2 separate regions of the Homo sapiens genome follow, and region 2 is linked to region 1. The links are contacts of gene promoters, found by promoter capture Hi-C in blood cells and fetal thymus (Javierre and others, 2016). All regions are on one chromosome and are shown on one strand. The core of a region is centred on a gene start or on the middle of the fragment in contact, and the rest is flanking DNA. Distances in the headings are between cores, read along the strand shown.

Region 1 (6,035 bases), core at 2,426-4,925:
GTCTTGAACTCCTGGCCTCAAGTGATCTGCATGCCTCGGCCTCCCAAAGTGCTGGGATTACAGGCATGAGCCACTGCGCCCAGCCAATTTTAACTTTTTGTCATAGACTTATGTATATTTTATGATAGTAAATGATAAAATAGACTAGTAACTACATGTATCTTGTGAATTCATGACCTTTTTATTAAATGCTTTGATATTTCTAGGCTACACAGGTCATTAGTAAGTTTTCTGAAATTGTCACAAATCTCCAAGAAATTTTCCAATATATTTATTGAAAAAAATTCACATACAAGTGGACCGGCACAACTGAAACCCATGTTGTTCAAGGGTCAACTATATATTCATATTAAAAACATCATTTGCACTCCTGTCTGGAAGGTGATGAATCTAAAAGGGAAGGTGTCAAGCCAACACTGAAAACAAAAATAAACAAGAAGATGATGTGATTTGATATAGCACAAGATACAGGGGATGGTTTGAACTGAGCACCAGAAGCGTAAGTTGTATAGTAAACTTTTTCTCTTGTCTTCAACATACTGGGGCAGTGGTCCCCTGCTAAGAACATAATTAACCTTTTGGCTTAAACAAGTAGTGAGAGGGTAAAGGAAGGCAGGAGCCTCACTCCCTGGGACTCAGACTCCAGTTCTTAAGCTGCACATTGTTCCCTGGAGTAGGGGAGTTGGGAGAGAAAGAAGGTGCCTTAGCCCATTTTATGTTGCTGTAAAGGAATACCTGACACTGGGCAATTTATAAAGAAAAGAGGTTTATTTAGCTCATGGTTCTACACGATGAGAAGTTCAAGGGCATGGCCCTGGCTTCTGGTGAGGGCTTTCGTGCTGCATCACAACGTGGTGAAGAAGGTCAAAGGGGAAGTGGACATGTGCAAAAAGGGGAACCCCTGAGGGGCATCCTGGCCTTATAACAACCTACTGTGGTGGAAACAAGCCCATTCTTGCAAGAACTCATGCAGTCCACGGAAACAGCACCAAGCCACTCATGAGGGATCTGCTCCCATACACCAGACCACTTCCATTAGGCCTCATCTCCCAACACCACCACATCAGGGATTAAATTTCAACATGAGTTTTTGTGGGGACAAACAAATCATATCCAAGCCATAGCAGAAGGCAAGACAGAAAAATGGCATGAGTAAGAAATGAGCCAACTGGTTACTACTTTTGATCACTTGGACAGGGTAGGCATAGGCAAAGAAAAGATTTTCACTGGGATAAACATCATTGTTATGTACCCCAGACTGTCTTGTTCCCCAGATTTTGAACGAGCGAACTTTTTTTCCCTTAAAAGTCCATAGCTGCATAATTCTGAAGGCATTGGCTGCAAGTTTCCATTTTTCCTTTCTCAAGGTTCAAGAAGTGCCCAAGTATTTTTTTCTTTTCTTTTCTTTTCTTTTTCTTTTTTTTTTTGAGACAGAGTCTCACTCAGTTGCTGAGGCTGGAGTGCAGTGACGTGATCTCAGCTTACCGCAACCTCTGCCTCCCAGGTTCAGGCAATTCTCCTGCGTCAGCCTCCCGAGTAGCTGGGACTACAGGCACATGCTGCCACATCCAGCTAATTTTTTATATTTTAGTAGAGATAGGGTTTCACCATGTTGCCCAGGCTGAGCTCAGGCAGTCTGCCCACCTTGGCCTCCCAAAGTGCTAGGATTACAGGCGTGAGCCACTGCGCCTGGCCTATATATTTTTTTTGATCGATAAGAAGTGTATTCATTTATTTGCACAGTTCTGCAGGCTGTGCAAGAAGCATCGCACCAGAATCTGCTTCCACTCAAAGTAAATAATGTCAAGGTTTGTTGTCATTCAGCCATTCAGGAAGGCAAAGGGGAGCAAACATCACATGGCAAAAGAGGAAGGAAGAGAGAGGGAGGGGGGTGCCAGGCTCTTTTCAACAATCAGCTTTGCAAAAACTAATGGACTGAGAATTCACTCCTGCAAGGGTGGCACCAAGGCCTTCATGATCCAAACACTTCTCACTAGGTTCCACCTCCAACATCAAGTATTTTCAGATGAGATATTTTCTAGCCTGTCTTAAGAATGATTTTACAATTTTTCCAGGCCATTTGCCCTCCTGGCAACCTTCCGTGTTCACCTTCTGGCAGGAAATTTTCTTACATGCCTACCTGGCAAAATATTGATCCACTTCAAAAATTCAGCTTAATTTTCTCCTTCTCTAGACTATATTATATTTTATCCAACATATTTTATATTATAAGTATATAATATATAATATATCCAATATAATTTAATTATATATTATAATTTATAATTATAATTTTATTATATTTATAATTTTAATTTATTAAAAGAACCAGGGAACACATTTATATTATATAAAATATAAAATTGTGATACATGTATATATTATAATTGTATTATATTTTATCCAATATAATATTTGGATAAAATATCAAAAATAATTTTTTGGATAAATTTAAGAGGTAGCCTAATATATAAGGGTGACTTTTCAGTCCAAACAAATGCAGACAACTCATACATCTATGTGTGCACTTACTGGTTTATATTTCAGTAGTCTCTTTTCTTGCTTGTCTCCATCTCTAAAGCATGAGCTCCTTGATGGAACAGATCACCTTGGGACACTATGTAATACAGCATACTGCTTAAGTGCATAGAGCCAGCACTTCTGGGTTTAAATCTCACACTTAGGGAATGTGTATCCTTAAGTAGGTCATCTAGCCTTTCTGTGCGTAAGTTCTCTCATTTGTAAAATGGGTATAATAATAGTAGCAACTTTAAGTAAGGTAAAAGTGAGAGAGAGAGAGTGAGAGTGAGAGGGAGCGGGAGAGAGACAGCGAGGGCGAGCGCTGGTCTTGAACTCCTGGGCTGAAGCAATCCTCCTGCTTCTGCCTCCCTAAGAGTTGGGATTACAGGCGTGAGCCACCGCACTTGGCCAAACGTTTTACTTTTTAAATTAGATTAAAAACCTTTTAATGACCGTCATTGAGTTACAGAATTTTTTTTTTAATAAAACGTAGCCTAATATATAAAAGGGTCATTGTTTCCAGGTCAAACAAATGCAGATAGCTGTGTTGGAGGGCAGAGGGAAGAGGGAGACTTGGAGGATTCTGGCAGGAAACACTCGAGTTTCCTCCAGTCTCTGCAACATCTTCCCACCGTCTTGCCTGCCATATGCAAGGTCCCTCCAGTTCCTTTTATTTACCTGTCAGAGGACTACTTTCTCCAGGAAGCCATCTCTGGCGTCCCACGCTTAGGCTCTGTCAGGCAAACTGATCGCCCTTTTATGCAACTGTCTGTTTAGCTGTCTGATACCACACAACTGTGACTTGCGCATTGGGGCTATGTCTGATTTTTCTCTGCGGAGTACTCAGGAAAGGAACGACTGATCTCTTCAAGCGAATCCTGTTAACAGCTAAGAGCCTCCTCTTACTTGGATCCCTATTGTTGACTGATGGAGACGGTTTCCCTCTCCATCAGTCACTCCTTGCCTCTCAGTTTCTCAGCCTCACCTGGAAACTTTAGAAATGAAGACCCTCAGATGTGCTCCCACGTTCTTTCAGCGATAATCTCTACAACCTTAGGGCATTAGCTCCGCCCCGTCTCGGCTCCTGACCCCGCCCCCTCCCGCACGCCTCCCTAAGCCTGGGTCACAAGTACGCATGCTCTCCCTTCTTCCCCGTAGCGTGATGACGTAAGCGGCGTTGGCGTGGTGTGGTAGGAGTGGTTGCGCGTGTTGCGGCCCGGGTTCTGTTCGTAGGTTTACAATTGTCGCGGGTAGTGGGGCGCCCCAGCTGCCAACTGCACGTGGTTTCTTTCTGGCGTTTGCCTAGTGTCCTGTCCATTCCGCCCCGTTGGGAAGTGGGAAGCGGAGAGGTTCTGTGGGGACAGAGCTGGGAGTCCTGAAGGAGAAAGCGCGCAGCCGAGGGGCTCTGGAGTGCCTTAGAGCAGAGCTGCGGCCGCGGAAGGGGAGCAGCTGAGAAAGGAGGGCCGCTGCAGGCGGGGTTCGAACCGTGGGGTCTGGGCTGCTCCCGCGGAGGGCCTGGGCGGACGCGGGATGCTGGGGGTCCGCTGCCTGCTGCGGTCCGTGCGCTTCTGTTCCTCCGCCCCCTTCCCCAAGCACAAACCTTCAGCCAAACTGAGCGTGCGGGACGCTCTCGGGGCTCAGAACGCGAGTGGGGAGCGCATTAAGATCCAGGTTGGTGAATGGGAAGGGAGTGGGTTTTTTCTTGTAGGGACTTTTATATGGCACATCCACATCTAGCTTTTCTTTTACAGTCGGGTCAGACACAACCGCCAGCAGGGAAAAGTTAGAAAGTGTAGGCGTCGCGGGTTTGCACTTTTCTGATTTCCATTACTTTTCACAAAACTGTTCCGATAACTGTAAAGCGCTGGAACTTTGCTTTCATGATTCCAGGGTATTACCTGTAAACTTGTTAATCATACCAAAAGTGTAAATGAACAAGCCCCCTTTCTCTATCTTTATCCCTTATAATGAATATCCAGGTTTATAAAGTGGTTGTCTTGACCTCCCTCCTTGAGAGCAGAAACCGTGTCTTACCTGCCTTTGTATTCACACATGGCTGACAGCAAATACTTGTTCAAACCATGCCTTTTAAACTTTTAGCGACCTCAGTGCCTATTGTGGGGGTCTGCATGTAATTTATTTTTAATGAATTCGGAGAAAGACTGGAATGTAGCAGTTTGAAAGAGCTCTGGAGTTAAGCTGCTTAGGTTTAAATCTCTGCATAGCGTTTATGCGTTCTACACCTTATTTTCCTCTTATGGAAAGAGATAATAATTGTCCCTGAGTCCTGAAAATTAAATGAGGTAATGGAAGTAAGATATTTAGAACAGTGGCTCATAGTCTACAAATGTTAGCTGCTATTGTTTCTCTTGCTGATTATATTATTTGCAGCAGCTCCACATAGAAGAGGTGCAGAATAAACAAGGTGTTTGACTGTTTCTTATTAGGTTGCTGAAGTACACTGATGTGGTTATTTATTTTTTGAGACAGGGTCTAGCTCTGTCACCCAGACTGGAGCGCAGTGATGTGATCTCAGATGACTACAACCTCCATCTCCCAGGCTCAAGCAATCCTCCTGCCTCGGCCTCCAGAGTAGCTGAAACTATAGGCATGCACCACCACACTCTATAATTTTTTAAGTTTTTTGTGAAGATGAGTCTCACTGTATTGCCCAGGCTGGTCTCAAACTCCTGGACTCAAGCAGTCCTCCTCCTTCGGCATCCCAAAATGCTGGGATTACAGGCATAAGCCTGGTAGATGTTGTTATAATAAATACTTATTTTTTGAGTAGGTTCTTGCTTTGTCACCCATGATTGTACTGACACAGTCATGGCTTGCCGTTGCAGTGATTTCTGTTGTCCTCACATATCCTTTACTTTTTAGCGGTATGACCAATCTGCTCCTCTTTGAGTTCCATATTCTTTCCATAGGTCTGTTGGTCTATTGATTGGGTATACATTAATGATACTTTGTGTGCTAGTCAAGAGAAAATTCAAAGATGAAAAGAGAACCTGCTGCCCAGGTTAGAGGATTTCAGTTTAGTCCTGTGAGGTCTGATATGGTAGCTACCAGCCACTTTTGGCTCTGAGCACTTGAACTTTGTCTGGTCCAAATTGAGATGTGCTATAAGTGTAAAATACATACCAATTTTGAAGAACCAAAAAGAATGCAAAATATCTCAATATGTTTTTATATTGATTATATGTTGATAATATTTGGGGCATAATAGGTTAAAGTGAAATATTTCATCTATTTTTATGTTTAACGTGGCCACAAAAAGAAATTTTAAATTAAACATGTGACTCACATTATGTTTCTGTTGGACAGCCCTGCTCCAATGGTTAAAACAAATAATTTTAGCAATAGGATAGTTGGTAGTAAGGTAAGTAAAGAACTATAAGAAAACAGGAAGTTACGTAACTGAGAAGGTTAAGGAAGATATCTTGCATGAGGTGATATTTCAGCCAAGTCCTGAAAGATGTGTTCCCTAGGCAGAGGAGCTGGGGATGGGGCAG
Region 2 (6,035 bases), core at 1,132-3,631, 1.1 Mb after region 1:
AGGTAACATATTCATAGTTCCCAGGGATTGGAATGTGAACATTCCATTGGATGAGCCATTATTCTGCCTAGTGCAGAGATCACGAAAAGACAATCCAGATTAGAGTCAATTTACTGGGTTAGGATCCTGGGTTAAGTTACTTAACCCCTCTGTGCCTCAGTTCCCGCATCAATAAGATGGGTGAGGATAACAACAGTATCTACCGTAGAGGGTAGAGGTTTAAAGACAGTGTTTGTAAAGTGCTCAGAACAGTACCTGGCACATAGAAAGAACAATAGGAACATTTATTAAATACATTTTTTTTGAGACAGAGTTTTGCTCTTGTCACCCAGGCTGGAGTGTGGTGGTGCAATCACAGCTTCCTACAACCACCGCCTCCTGGGTTTAAGCAATTCTCCTGCCTCAGCCTCCTGAGTAGCTGGGATTACAGGTGCCTGCCACTACGCCCGGCTAATTTTTGTATTTTAGTAGAGATGGGGTTTCGCCATATTGGCCAGGCTGGTCTCAAACTTCTGACCTCAGGTGATCTGGCTGCCTTGGCCTCCCAAGTGCTGGGATTACAGGCGTGAGCCACCGCGCCTGGCCTTATTAAATATATTTTAACAACATATTGATACTTAGGTATATGTCAAGCACTGTTTTAGGTGCTGAGGATATGGAAAGGAATATGACTTGGAACTCAAGAAATTAGATACACAAATGCAGTTACTTCCATAAAAGGCATAGAAATACTATAGAATTACAGTTTTGTTAAGGCTTAGGGAAACTTTAGAAATATTAGTCAAATGAATATGAATATGAATATGAATGACATTTGAGCTCAGCTTTGTACAATGAATAGGTGTTGGCCAGTCAGCTAAGTAGGGAAGAGCTTGAAGACATGAAGAAATGTGTATTCAAATAACGTTAATATTTCAGTGTGCTTGGAGCAAAAAATAAATGATGTGAGACAAAGCTAGAAAGGCTAGTGTAAGCAGTCAGGTAATAAAGTGCCAAGTTCAGGAGTTTGAACTTTATCCTGAAAGCAATAAAATCCTTTCGGTGTTTAAACGGGAGGACATCATCAGATTTGTGCTTTTATAAGGCTACTCAGGTAACTAGTGAGAAAAATAGATTGAGTTTGAAGAGACTAAAGGTTGCTCCAGTTGTTCAGGTGGTGGTAGTAGAAGACGACACAGGCAAGGACTTGAAAAATATTTAGGAGAAGCTACAAGACTTGGTGTCCAACTTGATATGGATGTTGAGAGAGGAAGAACGGGGAGCTATTAGTATGTCTAGGTTCCTGGCTTAGGGGATTGTTGAATGGGTGGCCCATTCATTGAGAACGGAAAGGAACGTAAGAAGCAATTTTGGGGGGGAAATAATAATAATAGCCAACATTCTAAAGGGCTTGTTACTATTACCATGGTAAAACTGAGGCTTAGGAAGACCTAGTTAAGGTACTACTTATTATTACAGAAAAATTACGGCTTAGAAATGTCAAGGTCCTATCACTAATATTTGAATAGCTAGGATTTCAAGCAAGGCAACCTGATTCCGGACTCTTAGCCTTTCTAATGCTGTCTCAGTTTCGCACATGTTGAATCTGAGGTACGAAGAGTATGCAGGTAATGCTGCTCGGGAGGTATTGGGAAATACACAATCTGAGCTCAGGAGAAAGAAAGCTTTGGGTCGAAAGTACCCTCCACGGTAGGGGAAAAAACGTGAAAGGAAGCCCATTCTTTTCGTATGTCAGTTCACATTAGTTCAAACATCTCCGTTATAATTTCTTTGTCTTCCTCCCACCCCTGCCCCCTCTCCCACAGAAAGAAAACATAATACATGTCTGGCTGTGAGATCACACGACATCGGATAGTTTTCAAATTCAGCCCTTGACAACGAGCTCATAGATGCGGTGGTGCTTTGTTAACCTGAAAAGGACCCTCAGCGCCGGAAGTTAGCCGTCTTTCTCCATCCTGACTACTACAGTAGCCCTCCCAGAAATCGTCCCAAAATTGTCTGATAGAAAGGCTGCACGGAAACAACCCGCCACGGACAGCGGACCGAGAACAGTGACGCGACGCGATGACGTCACGCAGCAAGCGGGTGATTCCCCAGCCTCTGGCGTCACGCGCCGATGACGTAATCCCAGGCGTTCGCCCTCATGCGGGCCAGGGTTTGGCCTCGCTCCCACGGGTCGGTCAGGCCCTCCCCGCCCCCTCTCACCTGCGGGAGGCGGGGCGGGCACGGCTCCACCGGAGCCGCAGCCGCCGCCGCCGCGCCGGGGAGGGGGAGTGGGGGAGGGGGAGGGGGAGAAGGGGAAAGGGCAGAGGGGAGGAGGAGGCGGGAGGAGGAGGAGTAGGGGAGCCAGTGAACTAGGCGGTCAGGCCTGCCGGGCGGCGTACAATAGCGCGGCTGTGGGCGGGGGAGGCTGCCCTCCCGCGGCTGCAGCCGGAGCCGAAGGTGGTGGCTGCACAGTAGACGCCCCCTCACGGCTTCCCCCACACGCTCCCGCCCCCTCGCTCGCCCATCGCGCTTCCCTCACAGGCTCTGCAGTCCTCCCCCACAGACGCCTTCCCCCTTGGACTCTCATTCCCTTTTCCACGGAGCCCCGCGCTTTCGTGAGCCCCCTCGAGGAACCTGGTCTCCGCATCCAGTTACCACCTCCTGCCTCAGAGGCCATCTGAGCCCTTCGCACCTCGCCCCTCAGTCCCCCCTTCCCCCCCCGCCCGCGTCGCCTCGCTCCCTCCCGCCCCCCCATCATCCCTTCCCTCGCAGTTCCCCTGTCCTGAGGGGAGCCCCGCCACGGGCAGCGCGGCGGCGGCGGCAGGAGGGAGAAAGTGAAGCGGTAGCTCGCGCACACTCGCGCCCTCACTCCCGGCTAGGCGGCACCCACCGCCGGGAGGAGGAGGAGGAGCCGAGAGGAGCTGAGCGAGCGCGGAAGGTGAGAGCGGGCCTACCGCCCAGTACCCCTCGCGTCCCGGGCTGCCAGGGCTGGGGCGCGGGGGTGGGGACGGGTGGAGTGGGGGTCTGGGCCCATTTATTTCGCGTTGCGGGGCCGGGCGCCTGGGCGGGAGGAGGCGCCAGGTAAGGTGAGGCGGGCGGCGCCCCGCGAGGCCCGCTCCCGTCGGGCCAACAAAGGCCCCCTGTGCGCGTACCGGCGGGGTCGCGGGTCTCAGACGCCGGGCGATTCGAGAGACCTGGGAGAGGGAAGGGGCGGGGCGGGGCCAGGCCAGGCTGGAGCCGGGAGGCCACACGAGTACCGGTCCGGGACCGAGTCCGTCCCGAACTTCGCAGTCCTGCGGCGCTCACCCTGTCCCGCTACGAGGAGGCACAGCAAAGCGGCGCCCAGTTCCTTCTGCATGGAATAAATGACCCCTTCCAGGCTTGGACAGTCACCTTTAGGGTTCTACTCCCTGAAAAATAAGGGCTGGTAGGACTTGACTTACGCAGCCCCTCCCCCACCCCGGAATATTCTGTAACTTGGGAAGTGAAAAACAACCGGGGAAGGAGATTTATAGTTATTTTATGTTCATTATTACGTTTGAAAAGACATGATTGTTGTAGCCTTCGCTATCCTATTTCAGCAGTACACATTACTGGGAGTGTTTTGGAAGAATACTTGAGAAGTAGTGGGTGTGGCGTTGTGAGCAACGTCCTTGGTTTTTAAACCCCTTGGATAATTGTTCTACTGTTACAAAAACTGTGAACAGTGAAGGGAAGGGTTAGTTCCGTGGTTACTAATAAAAATTCAGATTCATTAGTCTTGACTTTAAGAATTGTTCCTGAGAACAATCTTTAATTTTGCCTCCTACATTTTTGGGTTCTCTTTCAACTCTGTCAGGAGAAAGTAGGAATTATCAGTACAGATACCTCATCTCTCTTACCCTGTGGCTTCATCTACTTCTTGTGTGACCTTGAGCAGGTCACTTCCAGCCTTAAAAGCTCCAGAAGTTTGGTTTTATGCCCCAAAACGGGCAAGTAGCAAGCACCGGACTCAGCTTTCAAGAGTCCACTGAAGAATTCCCACACTGTGAAGTCTTTGCTGGCCTCCATCCTGTCTCTCCTCTTACAGACAGAGCTGATTTCTTCCCATTGGCCCGGTGGGATTTCTACCACAGCACTTACAACATTTTGGTTCCTATTTGGAAAATTCTAAGTCAGGTGCATATAAAAACTCCCCACCTCAACTAGAAACTATGCCTTTCAAAAAGGGTTTTGGGAACATTGACCCTGAAAACTTCCCATACTTTCCCTGAAGCTTATCCATACTCTTTAACTACATGAGCTCATGGGTCTACCTTGGTAAATTTGCTTATTCAGTCAATTCGTTTATCCAACATTACTGGAGTTCGGAGAGCTACTATGTTTCAGGCCTCTTGCTAAGGCTATGGGGATTCAGTCTATTAAGATATTCCCTGTCTTCAAAGAGCTCAAAGTCTAATGGGTGAGGTAGACAAGTAAACAATGAAGGTCTGCCCTAATCTCTGGGGGACTCCAGTTGTACAGGTAGTAGTGTGCAATAATTGAGGCTGCTGGACCTGTTTTACAAGTCTTCTCTTGGCCAAAGTGAGTCCTGCAGGGAAGGTGACCTGCCTCATCCATAACAGGGCATTTGGTAAAAAGCTTGTTCAGTTCAATTCAATATACATTTACTAAGCACATGTTTTGAGTCCCTGTGCTAGGTTTGAAGGAAGCAGTGCCTCAAAGGAAGGTACTGTGCATCCAGAAAGATTTCTGTAAAACAAAACCTTACCACATCAGCGCCCCCTACCCCTGACTCTTCATATTCTGAAGATAAATTTCAGAGTAACATGGAATAAAAAGCTCTCAGGGATCAGACCACTGCCTGCCTTTGCAGTCTCACTTTCTGTGGCTCCCCTGCCACTCTCATCTTCACTCTTGCATGTTCTGTTTTCTTCCTGGAATGCTTCCCTTCCACCCCTTACCTGCCTGTGGAGATGACCTTGTTGGGCCTCTGGGATGCAGTCCCTTAGTCTCTCCTTTTCCTGCATAGAATGAGTTGCTCTTCCATCCTCTGGCTCATGTACATACCACTTTTATGGCCTTCTGTAGCGCTCTGTTGCAATTACTTGAGTTTGTGCCTGTCTTTTTTTGGTAGCCTGTGAATTTCTTTTCTTTAATAAGCCCTTTAAATGATTCTGATGCTTGCTAAAGTTTGAGAACCACTGGGTTAAAAGATCTGCTCTTAATAAAAACCAGCACCCTGCCAGCTCCTGCTGTCCCGTTTTTCTTCCGTAGCACTTAACTGCGTGACATCCCATCCCATCCCATCCCATCCCTCTCTTGCCAATAGAATGAAAGCTTCCTGAGACTGGGAAGTTTTGTCAGTTTGGTCATTGCTTTAATCCTAGTGCCTAGAATAGTGACTGCATATAGCAGGCACTCAAGTATTTGTTGAATGAATAATGTAAGATGATTTAATTCTATGTATTGCCAGCTGCGACATTGGGGTTTTACTCAAGAACCGTTCTCAGAATGAATAGGAATCATGGTCCAATGTGCAAATCCAAGGGGATCCTAACATTTTTGGGGGATTCATTTTAGGTTGAGCTTTTCCCTTTATGTGTCTCCAACCAAAGCCTGCAAGAATTTTTAGCCTAGTCTTTTGTTCGTTTGTTTGTTTTAACCACCACCTGAAAACTGCTGTTGCAATATTCCAAGCCAGGATTGTTTCTTTTGAATTTGCAAGTTGGTTTTGCAAGTCTAAATAAGCACTCTTAACTTTTGAGTCTTTTAACTTAAAACTGTCTCTTCCTGGTCTCCTGTGGTTTTTGTCTTTCTCTGGTGATACTTAAAGCTATATAGGGCCTGTTTGACTCCACACAAAGGTTTCTCTTCCTTGTCAAGCTCTTAAAATGCTTTGTTTCTTTCACTTTCTTATTAGCCCTAAGATACCATGCCCAGTTTTCTCCTTTCCTAGCTTCCTTCTGGGAGAGTGGCTTCAATTATTCATCCGTTTACTATAAAATTATGAGTCCTTCTCCACCATGTGCCAGACCCTGTGCTGGGCAGGATGTTCAGCTATATACAAG

Evidence for each region. Contacts are between HindIII fragments. The CHiCAGO score rates a contact against its expected background, and 5 or more counts as called.
Region 2: the fragment with the promoter of PAK1 here is called in contact with the fragment with the promoter of NARS2 in region 1 in 5 of 17 cell types (non-activated CD4 T cells, total CD8 T cells, activated CD4 T cells and 2 more); the score reaches 9.8 in non-activated CD4 T cells.

Annotation. Positions count from the first base shown.
Region 1 is chr11:78,572,504-78,578,538 of GRCh38, reverse strand. NARS2 (asparaginyl-tRNA synthetase 2, mitochondrial) reads left to right here and starts at 3,675. Exons shown (of 14, transcript NM_024678.6): 1 at 3,675-4,191. The coding sequence starts at 4,051. RefSeq lists enhancers at 3,380-3,519, 4,180-4,289. The HindIII fragment of the contact is 10,208 bases long and covers 1-6,035 here.
Region 2 is chr11:77,470,440-77,476,474 of GRCh38, reverse strand. PAK1 (p21 (RAC1) activated kinase 1) reads left to right here and starts at 2,381. Exons shown (of 15, transcript NM_002576.5): 1 at 2,381-2,923. RefSeq lists silencers at 2,147-2,506, 2,737-2,786, 2,807-3,116 and an enhancer at 2,357-3,273. The HindIII fragment of the contact is 2,576 bases long and covers 1,667-4,242 here.